Linked DNA regions of Homo sapiens: all the other regions are linked to region 1. The links are contacts of gene promoters, found by promoter capture Hi-C in human tissues and cell types (Jung and others, 2019). All regions are on one chromosome and are shown on one strand. Each heading gives the region's core, a stretch centred on a gene start or on the middle of the fragment in contact. The rest is flanking DNA. Distances are from core to core; before and after follow the strand shown.

What was found. The method cuts DNA at HindIII sites, captures the fragments that hold promoters and counts their contacts. A contact is called where the count stands out against the background at its distance.
Region 2: the fragment with the promoter of VLDLR here is called in contact with the fragment with the promoter of SMARCA2 in region 1 in 1 of the 25 tissues and cell types used here (hippocampus).
Region 3: a fragment that was not itself captured here is called in contact with the fragment with the promoter of SMARCA2 in region 1 in 1 of the 25 tissues and cell types used here (dorsolateral prefrontal cortex).

What each region holds. Positions count from the first base shown.
Region 1 is chr9:2,013,552-2,016,611 of GRCh38, forward strand. SMARCA2 (SWI/SNF related BAF chromatin remodeling complex subunit ATPase 2) reads left to right here and starts at 1,796. Exons shown (of 34, transcript NM_003070.5): 1 at 1,796-1,853. RefSeq lists enhancers at 1,296-1,345, 1,406-1,455, 2,242-2,798 and silencers at 1,506-1,845, 2,986-3,060. The HindIII fragment of the contact is 11,281 bases long and covers 1-3,060 here.
Region 2 is chr9:2,619,920-2,623,055 of GRCh38, forward strand. It overlaps VLDLR (very low density lipoprotein receptor), which reads left to right and starts at 1,868. Exons shown (of 19, transcript NM_003383.5): 1 at 1,868-2,352. The coding sequence starts at 2,271. VLDLR-AS1 (VLDLR antisense RNA 1) reads right to left here and starts at 2,454. Exons shown (of 4, transcript NR_015375.2): 1 at 2,181-2,454. RefSeq lists an enhancer at 1,410-1,704 and silencers at 1,583-1,662, 2,273-2,542, 2,813-2,902, 2,913-3,002. The HindIII fragment of the contact is 11,914 bases long and covers 1-3,136 here.
Region 3 is chr9:2,639,942-2,643,284 of GRCh38, forward strand. VLDLR (very low density lipoprotein receptor) reads left to right here. Exons shown (of 19, transcript NM_003383.5): 3 at 1-40; 4 at 1,436-1,558; 5 at 3,219-3,343. Among named protein-coding and RNA genes, the nearest start is that of VLDLR-AS1, 19 kb to the left of the region's middle. The HindIII fragment of the contact is 4,170 bases long and covers 1-3,343 here.

The DNA.
Region 1 (3,060 bases), core at 546-3,045:
TTTCGTTGTCTTGAGGTTCACTTCAAGATAGACAGAAAATGATGAAGCTAAAGTTAACAAGCAAGTAGCAAGACCTTAGAAAGCTATAGGGTGGGTGATCACCAACACTCCCAGCCATCATGAAAATGCTGCCCTAGTGGGCTCTGCTTCAGCCAGCAGTGGACCAGTGATATAAAGAATTCTTGCTTCTTAATGACTACATGGCAGTATTTGGCGTTCTTTCCATTACTTCTTGTCTTCAACTTATCCAGCCTGAAGTTTTAAGCATCCTAGAACTGCATTTCAGACCCAGTTGCTCAAATGGAGTCAATTTTGCAACAGTAAAATGGTCTTAAAATAGGATTTTACTCTAGGGGGAAGAATCCTCAACCAGATAGTCACAGTGCACTTTGAATGACTAATTTAAGCCATTACATTACGAAATAAGGGATAAATCATACTTTTCATAACACTACTGCATAGGAACAGTTTTAAGAGTCAAGCATCTACATTAATCTGAGTCTAAAATAATAGGCCCCTGATTTAAAGTCTCCTAACATTCTTTCACACTTCATAAAACTAAAAATAAAATTGTCTCACCAAACACCGACCTATTGGTCCGGCCAAAGTACTGTATTTCAAGGAAAATTGGAGCAAAGAGGTCTCAAAACCGCGACTTGCCAGCAAATTACAATTTGCAGCCTTAATTGGTCTCAAATGCGGGGTGAGAGGGAAGAGACTACGGTCTGTAGAAAATAAGAGATTTATTCCCCTTTTTAAATCAAAACCAGATTCCATGCTTCAGCCGCCCCCTAACCCGCCAGCCCCGCCCCCAGGGTTTGTTTTTCCATATTTTTGTATATATTTTAGCGAAGATGGCAGGTGAGGGAAGGTTATAGTGCTGTACCTAGTCCACGAAGTAAACAGAGAGGTTAGGGTGGGTTTACTTATTTATAAGGCGTTCAGCCTCTCAGCTGTTTCTCCCTCGTTGGCATTTGGAAGCTTGCAGTCCTTCAGGGAAGAGACAGATTTGGCAGGAACGTTCTTTGTGCCCGCCTCCCTTTTCTATTTTTTATTTTTTTACCTGGAATAGGGGGCAGATTTATAATGACAGCCTTAGGGAAGGGGGAGAAAAAGTTTCAGCCGGCACGACAATGCCCGTTTTTTCCACAGTCCACACTGTGCCACAAACAGCTTTGGTGCCACTCGGAGCCCGTCCCCCGTCCCCTCCCTCTCTCTCTGCAGGCTCGCACTGGCAGGCGGAGGCACAGTTAAATTCCAGCACCTTCTCCACATACCCCCGAACTACTACGCGCTATTACTACGGCTGCCCTCCGTTTTCGCTTCGCCTCCTCCCCTTCCGCAGTCTCCCTGGAGGAGCCCCGCGGCGCCCGAGGAAGAGGACTGCCAGGGAAGGGACAGCGGGCGCCCAGCTCCAGCAGGGCTTGGGGCTTTCTGCATCCCGCGCAGTTTCTCTGCTCCAGGCACAAACGCGGCCCGAGAGCCGGCGCCTTGCAGTCACACACGGATCCACGCATACAGTAGAGCTGTCTAGATCCACATTCTTGCACACCGCCCCCTCCTCCCCCCGCGCTCCCGGAGTCGCTGAGCTGAGCGAGTGACAGGCGCGTCCCGCCAACCCGCGCCCGGACGGGCAGGGAGGAGCGGCGCGCGGGGCCAACTGCGGCGCGTCTTCCGGCGCCCGCGGAGGAGGCGAGGGTGGGACGCTGGGCGGAGCCCGAGTTTAGGAAGAGGAGGGGACGGCTGTCATCAATGAAGTCATATTCATAATCTAGTCCTCTCTCCCTCTGTTTCTGTACTCTGGGTGACTCAGAGAGGGAAGAGATTCAGCCAGCACACTCCTCGCGAGCAAGGTAAATATAACTTACAACTCTTTTCTCCTCTTTCCCCTCCCTTCGGCCGCCCCGCTGCAGCCGCCGCTCAGACCCCTCCGGCACCACGCCGCCTTCGCCCGGGATTATCCATTATTATCCTAATTATTATTTATTGTGCATGCAAGGAGACCAAAACAAACAGGCGGGCCAACCGCCGCGACAAAAAAAAGCCCGCCTCCTCCCCGCGGGCCTCAGGTGGAATGCTCTAACGACAGCTCCCAGGCGGCGGTGGAAGAAACGAGAAAGTTTCAACCGAACCTTGCTGTTCTAATAATAACAGTAATAATTACTACTTCAAGGGGGCAAAGGAGGAAAAAAATCCCAACAAGCCACAGCCTTGATCCTGAGTGGGCAGTCAGAGGCGCTGCCAACTCAAGGTTGCAACACACACATTGGGCCAGGTTGCAATCCCCCCATCCCCTTAAAAGTGAGGCGGCGGGGAGGGGGGTGGCCGCAGGAGGGGGAAGGCCTGGGGGACAGGGGAGGAGGATGGAAACGCTACTGTTCATCCCGGGCAACCCTCCCCGGAAGAGTTGGAAGGGGAACGGGAAAGGAGGGCGGGGAGCCCAGGCTGGCGGCGGGGCGCCAACGGACGCTGTTGCCACCCGCTTCCCAGGGACTTGTTCAAAGGGCTCCGGCTGCGGAGACGTGAGCGGATCGCAGCGGGAGAAGCCTGAGCTGACGCGCGAAGGAGGTAGCGGCCACTGCCGCGGGGCCGGTGCGTGCCTGATCGGAGGTGTCACCTCCACTTTCCGCGTTTCCTCCGGCGTGGATGGGGAGGCTGATTGGTAGGCAGGCCTTTAGGCAAAGGGGCTGCCAGGGGGCTGCGCCCCGGGCGCTGCGGACGTCCCTGCCTCTGGTACCTGGCGGCAGCGCAGGCTCGGGTGTTAAAGTTCGGGATGTCCGGCCCGGGCCGCACTGCTGGAGGGAAGGGAGGAGGCCCCCAAGGAGGTCGGAGGTGCCCGCCAGCCTCCGTTACCCTGCCCTCCCTCTCCCCGGGTCCGTGTTCTTTTGCTTCGCGTCTTCCCCTTGCTTGCGCCGCGGGAGCTGCGGGCGTGGGGCGCCTGCGATCGTCCGGGTGCTAGGGGCGCGCCGGGACCCAGGAGAGCCACGGCGGCGGCTGCGGGCCCGGGAGGCCATGATCCGGATAATCCTGTCTGCCTGACTGTCACAAACAGGACCCGCG
Region 2 (3,136 bases), core at 618-3,117, 610 kb after region 1:
TACCTGTATCTCTGAGTAAAGTATTAAAAACAAGTCATATGACTGTTTATTAATGCTGCCTCTTTTTGTATTGATTCCACCCATCCCTTCTACTCCTTTCCTCTTCTGTAAAGCAGTAGCTCATCAGATGGCATTTCAGAACCCTGAGAATATGAAAGACATCATGCACTAAGGTTTTCCTATCACATCTCAATGCCATTAGGTGAATAACACCGGCATGCATCTTCACTACTAAATGTCATACAAACAAATTTCAGTTGTTTCACATGCAACCTGTGTGGCTGCTGCAGTTTGTATCAACTATGTAACCACAGGGTGGGCAAAATAGCATTCAAAATGAGCTATAGTGCAAGATACCATCCATACGTAGAGTTAAGCCCTTTCATGCTTAGCAGTCACAATCAGGATATCTTTGGCCCACAGAAACCTATCCTGACTGGAATTTTCCTCTCCTGTGTGTCTCCTGGATATAGTAAGTTCCTAATAAACATCTCCTCTGATTGCTAGCCTTGACAAATTTCCAGGAGAACCAGGGCAAGGAGAAGACAGTGAGGCAGTGCCCGCTGCTCTTCAGATCACCAACAGAATAGAGTCAGAATATGATATTATTGAAACCTTCCAAGTTTGAATTAAGATAAAAACAACTTTTTCAAAATACCAAAAACCTTTTATTTAAGAAAGTGAAATCGCTCGATGTGCCCTCCCACTCTGGTTAGATGCTCAACAGACCACAGCAGACAATGCACCTCAACCAGGGCTAAGTGTGCAAGAAAACTGAAGTACACAAAAAGCAAATTATAGACTCAGGTACTGTCAGGCACAAAAGAAGAACCAACCCTTTCTAGGAGTCTTGTCTTTGCTTCCTTTATTCTTTCCTCGATTCTTGTAATTGAATGTTACAAAGTATATCAAGAGGAATAAACGTATGGGGCCCCTCTCTTCCAAACAAGAAAAGGTTAAGCTTTTAATTACAGGCCCTCAAACTATCATTTTGTGCAATTAGCAATTAACTATAATCGTTGATGAGCAAATGCAAAGCTGCGCTAGCAATTTCCCTTCTCCTCATCCCAGGCTGGGTTATTTCAGTCTTGTTCTATTACAGAGGACCAGCCACAACCGCGCGCACTCTCTTTCAAACATACACACTCTCTCACTTAAAGACACATTTAGTTTTCGGCAAAACGGCATCTCAGCGTGCGATTGAGACCGGCATCCCAAACCCCACTTTTGAGCAGCCCAAACGTTTGGAGCCCCTCCGCTTCATCACTTTCTGAGTGGATAGAGGAGGCCCGAAGAAGATGCTACCTACCAGCCTCTCTCAGGGGCGCAGGAGAGGGTGGTAGAGAGATGCTTGTTGCCCCTGGAAACTGCAAGTACCCCCCAGGTGCACGCCCCGTCAGTGGGGAGGCGGTGGCAACAGCAACGATAGTTGCATCAGCGCTAACTGCTGCTGCTGCTGCGTGTTCTGCCGGAGGCTGCCGGGAGGGTACAGTAATGACTGTAGGGAGCGCACAGCCGCTGCGGCGGCAGGTTCCCTGGATCAGGAAATTAGGACAGGCACCCGGGATTGGAGGCGAGGGCGGCGCGCGAGCCAACCAGCGGTCGCCCCGGGCCCCCGTGAGCCCCAGGCGAACGCGCGGAGCAGCCGGGCCCCTAGAGCGGTCCGGGTGGCGGCGGCGGCAGCCACGACCACGACCGCGGTCACTCACGCACGCTCACACTCGCACGCTCCCCGCGCGGGCACCCGGCTGCCCGGCGCGTGCAAGAGGAGCGCGTCGAGGGAAAGGAGGGCCGAAGCCGCCGCGCTCCCGCCCGCCCGCCGCGCCTCCCGTTGACCACGCCCCCTCCGGCCCCCTCCCCGCTGCTCACCCCGCTCTCCGGCCGCCGCCGGTGCGGGTGCTCCGCTACCGGCTCCTCTCCGTTCTGTGCTCTCTTCTGCTCTCGGCTCCCCACCCCCTCTCCCTTCCCTCCTCTCCCCTTGCCTCCCCTCCTCTGCAGCGCCTGCATTATTTTCTGCCCGCAGGCTCGGCTTGCACTGCTGCTGCAGCCCGGGGAGGTGGCTGGGTGGGTGGGGAGGAGACTGTGCAAGTTGTAGGGGAGGGGGTGCCCTCTTCTTCCCCGCTCCCTTCCCCCGCCAACTCCTTCCCCTCCTTCTCCCCCTTTCCCCTCCCCGCCCCCACCTTCTTCCTCCTTTCGGAAGGACTGGTAACTTGTCGTGCGGAGCGAACGGCGGCGGCGGCGGCGGCGGCGGCACCATCCAGGCGGGCACCATGGGCACGTCCGCGCTCTGGGCGCTCTGGCTGCTGCTCGCGCTGTGCTGGGCGCCCCGGGAGAGCGGCGCCACCGGAACCGGTGAGTGAGGACGCGCCCCTCCGCCGGCGGGCGGGACCCAGCCGGGGCACCGGGAGACCCCGAGGCGTAGGTCTCCGTTTGCCCACCCGCCTCCTAGGAGGCGCCTCTCGGTTCTCCTCGCCTTCCCTCCCTCCCCTCCGTGGTGGCGCCTCTGAGCTGTCAGCGCCGAGGCTAAAGGGAGCCGGGCTTGGGGAACAGCGGGGTTCGGGGTGCCCCGACGCCTCGCCTGAACTAGTCTTCTGCCCCTCACTCCGCCTCCCCCAGAGCCGCTGCTTCGCCTCGTTTCTCGCCCTCTTGACGGGCGCCGAGGTGCGTGGGCTTCTGAGCATTGAACAATGGTTCTGCCTCCTCTGCCAGGCGCAGTGTTGGGAAGGAGGCAGAGGGCCAAGACGTGTGCGGCAGCCTCGGGCGCACCCTCGAACCCCGGGGAGTGCGGGAGCGGACGGGGGGAGAAGGTGAGCGCCTCCGGGGACGCGGAGCGCCAGGGGCCGGCCGGGCTTCAGAGTCTTCCGGCGGCCGCGAGCTGGCGCACGTTCGGTGGGCGGCGGCCGGGAGGCTCCGCGGAGCCGAGGGCACCCGGACTGCGACTCCCCCGGCGCGGGGCCGCCTCTCCGGCGTGCGGGGTAGGGGAGCGGCGGGGCTTTACGCAGGACTCTGCTCTGGGCGCTTCTCCTCTCCCTTTTCCCCGCCTCGGGCGGCGTTTGGAAACCGCTCGGGTCTCCCGTGTAGCTGAACGCGGAGGGGGAGTGGAGGGGAGACTTAATCAGGTTAGTTTGCTGACCCT
Region 3 (3,343 bases), core at 349-2,848, 630 kb after region 1:
GACTGCGAAGATGGTTCAGATGAAAGCCCAGAACAGTGCCGTGAGTGTAACTTGCTTTGGCCTTGAACTTTGCCAAGTTGTTCGGTGTCTAACATTTCTAAGTATTGCTTAATCTCCTACTTGGTATTCATTTTTCTTTGCCTGCCTTAAAGTTTAGGTCAATTGACTCCAAGGGCAGTCAAATCATTACCAGTTTATCAGCCTCCTTTAAAGAATGTTCTCCCTGGTCCAACAAGACTGACATTCTCTTGGGTAGCTTCACTATTGAATACTTAAAACTGAAGTCAGCAGATTCAATCAAGAACTCCTTGACTAGGTGCATAGATTTCAAATGTCTGTTTATAATAACTGAGCAGATGGTACTCTGGTCCTGGAAGCTAAGTCAAGAAGTGAGGGTTCCCTATGGGCCAAGCAAAAGCTTTTAGAAGCACAGCTTATCATACTATTAAAAAGCTATTACTGAAGAGGTAAGGTAGCTAGTAATTGGGTGATATAGTGACTCCTGACACACATGTAACCTCAAGTTACTAAAATGGAGATCTTACAGCATATTCTTAAATAAGAGAAACTTCATAGGTATGCAAGTATATACCTGTGTCCTTAGGAAAAAGTCTATGAGACCATAAAGAATGATGGTTTGGGATCATATAAATTGAGATCACACGAATGTCAAGGCAAAGAAAGTCTTAGAGTTTGAGTCAGTAGAGGCCTGCACTGGTAGAAACACTAAAAAAGGACTAACATGAACACAGTTTAGGTCTAAAGTGTGATTATGAAAGAAAATCAAATAGAAAGGAAGATAAGGCTGTTACTTTCAATTTTCTAGATAAGAAGTGAGGGGAGTAATATTGGTCAAGGCAAGTGAGTTCAAGGCCTGTGAGCTAAAGACAGGTTGTGTAAAGATTCAGCCTCAACTTTTAGTGGAGAATGACCTGGTCAAGTCAAGCATTAGGGCATGCTTCTACTTTGCAAGATGTCAATCTAAAGGACATTGTGAAGGAGGCCCATAAAGGAATCTAGGCAATAGAAGATTTTGTAGGTGTTTGACCATCTGACTTTTCATGTATTTGAGATTAGATGACAATATCTAGGTGTGCCCACTTGACATCCAACAGATAAATAGTGGTCTAGGAGCAGGCCAGCCAATAAACTTCACCACGCCAAGTAAAACAAAAGCCAGAACTGAGCACGCCATGGGACCTTGAAGGAGTGACGTGGTCAAAGCTGTCACGTACACTGCCAGGTAGCATAGGTTGGCACAGCTTCTAAGGAGTGGAGCTGATGAAAGAGCTCCCCGGGCTTCAGCCAGTTAGTAGAATTTCACCAGTGTGCCAGGCTACTGAGTCACAGGTATTAGCGCTTCCAGGCAGCACAGGAGCAGCAGCTTTGCATTGATCAGTTCTGAGGCTCTTTTGAGACTGTATATCATCAACAGATATGAGAACATGCCGCATACATGAAATCAGCTGTGGCGCCCATTCTACTCAGTGTATCCCAGTGTCCTGGAGATGTGATGGTGAAAATGATTGTGACAGTGGAGAAGATGAAGAAAACTGTGGTAAGAAGATCAGTGTTGAGTGACGTAACCCAAAGACCCTTTTCCTAAAGGAAGGGTGGGCAGGGGAAACTAATCTAAGCCTGAAGACGCACTGACATTGACTCACTTTTCAGTGACTTCACTATCTGCTCAATTACTTGTCCTTCATAACTGCCCTAAAACCCTAAAAGACATTCATGTGGCAATTGACCATCGCTTGGTGTTTCTTTTAGGCAAATAGAAATAAGAAGGTAAGTCATTCAAGGCACTTATATATAGAAGTAGCTCAGGGAAGCAGCAATTGTGTGGGCTTTTGTTTTGACAGTAATTCATGTGTCTTTTGCACTTTGGCACAATAAAATTAGAAGGTGAGTAGGGTTGGCAAACACATTCATAGGTCTAAATTTGATTGGGTTATTGGAATAAATTATTTGAGTATTATACAAGCATTTCTTTGCCCATGAACTAGATTCTGGCATAACTTTCCCAGAAAAAAAAAAAAAAAAGACACAGAAGCATGAATTAACATCTTGCCTCAGATACCCAAAGAAAAGTCTACCCAACTGGTGATACCTTTGTCTCCTGTTGCAGTTCCTGTCTCTGAAAGCTAACTCTGCTTCCTATTCTTTCATGTTTCTGGTCTTGGAAAATCTTTAATAAAATGCTGCATGTTGAAGGTGAGGGCCTGGGAAAATCACTAGGTTGAACAAACAGTGCTTTGAATGTTCTTTCAAGCTACTGCCCTTTTTATAGGGCCTCTAAAACCTACAGCTCCCAAGTCTGACAAGCATGGGCCTCCTGATATGGTAGTAGTCAAGGGAGCTCAGGGCACTTACAGTTGAAACACCAGTCTTGTGTGTAGAAGTCGCCTCCTGAGGTCAATACCACTGCACCTAGTCCAATGAGTTTTAGTGTTCAATCCTAGAATTGGGTTTTCTGTATTGGTAAGCCCTGGTGCTGCCAAGTGTTTCCCTTATAAATCTAGACTTTGCTTCCCAAGAGAGTCGTGGTCTCTATTCTAATTGCCACCAAATTGTGACCTTGAAACATTTGGCAGGAATTTAAGTCAAAGTACCAATTGGCTAGTAGGACTAGCTTATCATTGTCAGCATACCTGATTGTTAAATGGTGATTATAGCCCTGGCAGTGACTTTTTCAAAATGGAAAGTGTTTAAGACTTGTTATTCCTGATCCTTATTTAAAGGACCAAAAAGAGGAACCATATATGGTGGTATGTGGTTCACCTCTTTTGGTGACAAAGTCTTAATGCTTGTTGTGAGTATTACGTTGCATGATATTCTCAACTAGTGATAAGATCTGACAAGCAGTATGTTGATTCAAGGACAACTCAATCTCTGCCTTCCAAATTGAAATCCCTTGTTACAGTTTGTTATTTATGATGGCCACTTTTAGAATCAATTGTGGTTCTCATCTCAAATTAATTTCCAGTCTTCAACTATTTTCTTGGTTCTTTATTTCTGTTCTTCTTATTTATTGTGTGCCTTCATTTTTTGTACAATGAGACTGTACAAAAGTTCTTGATTTAACTCCATTGTAGCCTTTAAGTTGGGCTAGTAAGTTAGGATTAATGAATAAAGATCAATGTATTAGATTTTGGGACAAGAATCTTGAACGGACCAATCTTGATGCATTTTCAGTGGGGCATCCTCTCTCTTAATAGGCAATATAACATGTAGTCCCGACGAGTTCACCTGCTCCAGTGGCCGCTGCATCTCCAGGAACTTTGTATGCAATGGCCAGGATGACTGCAGCGATGGCAGTGATGAGCTGGACTGTGCCCCGCCA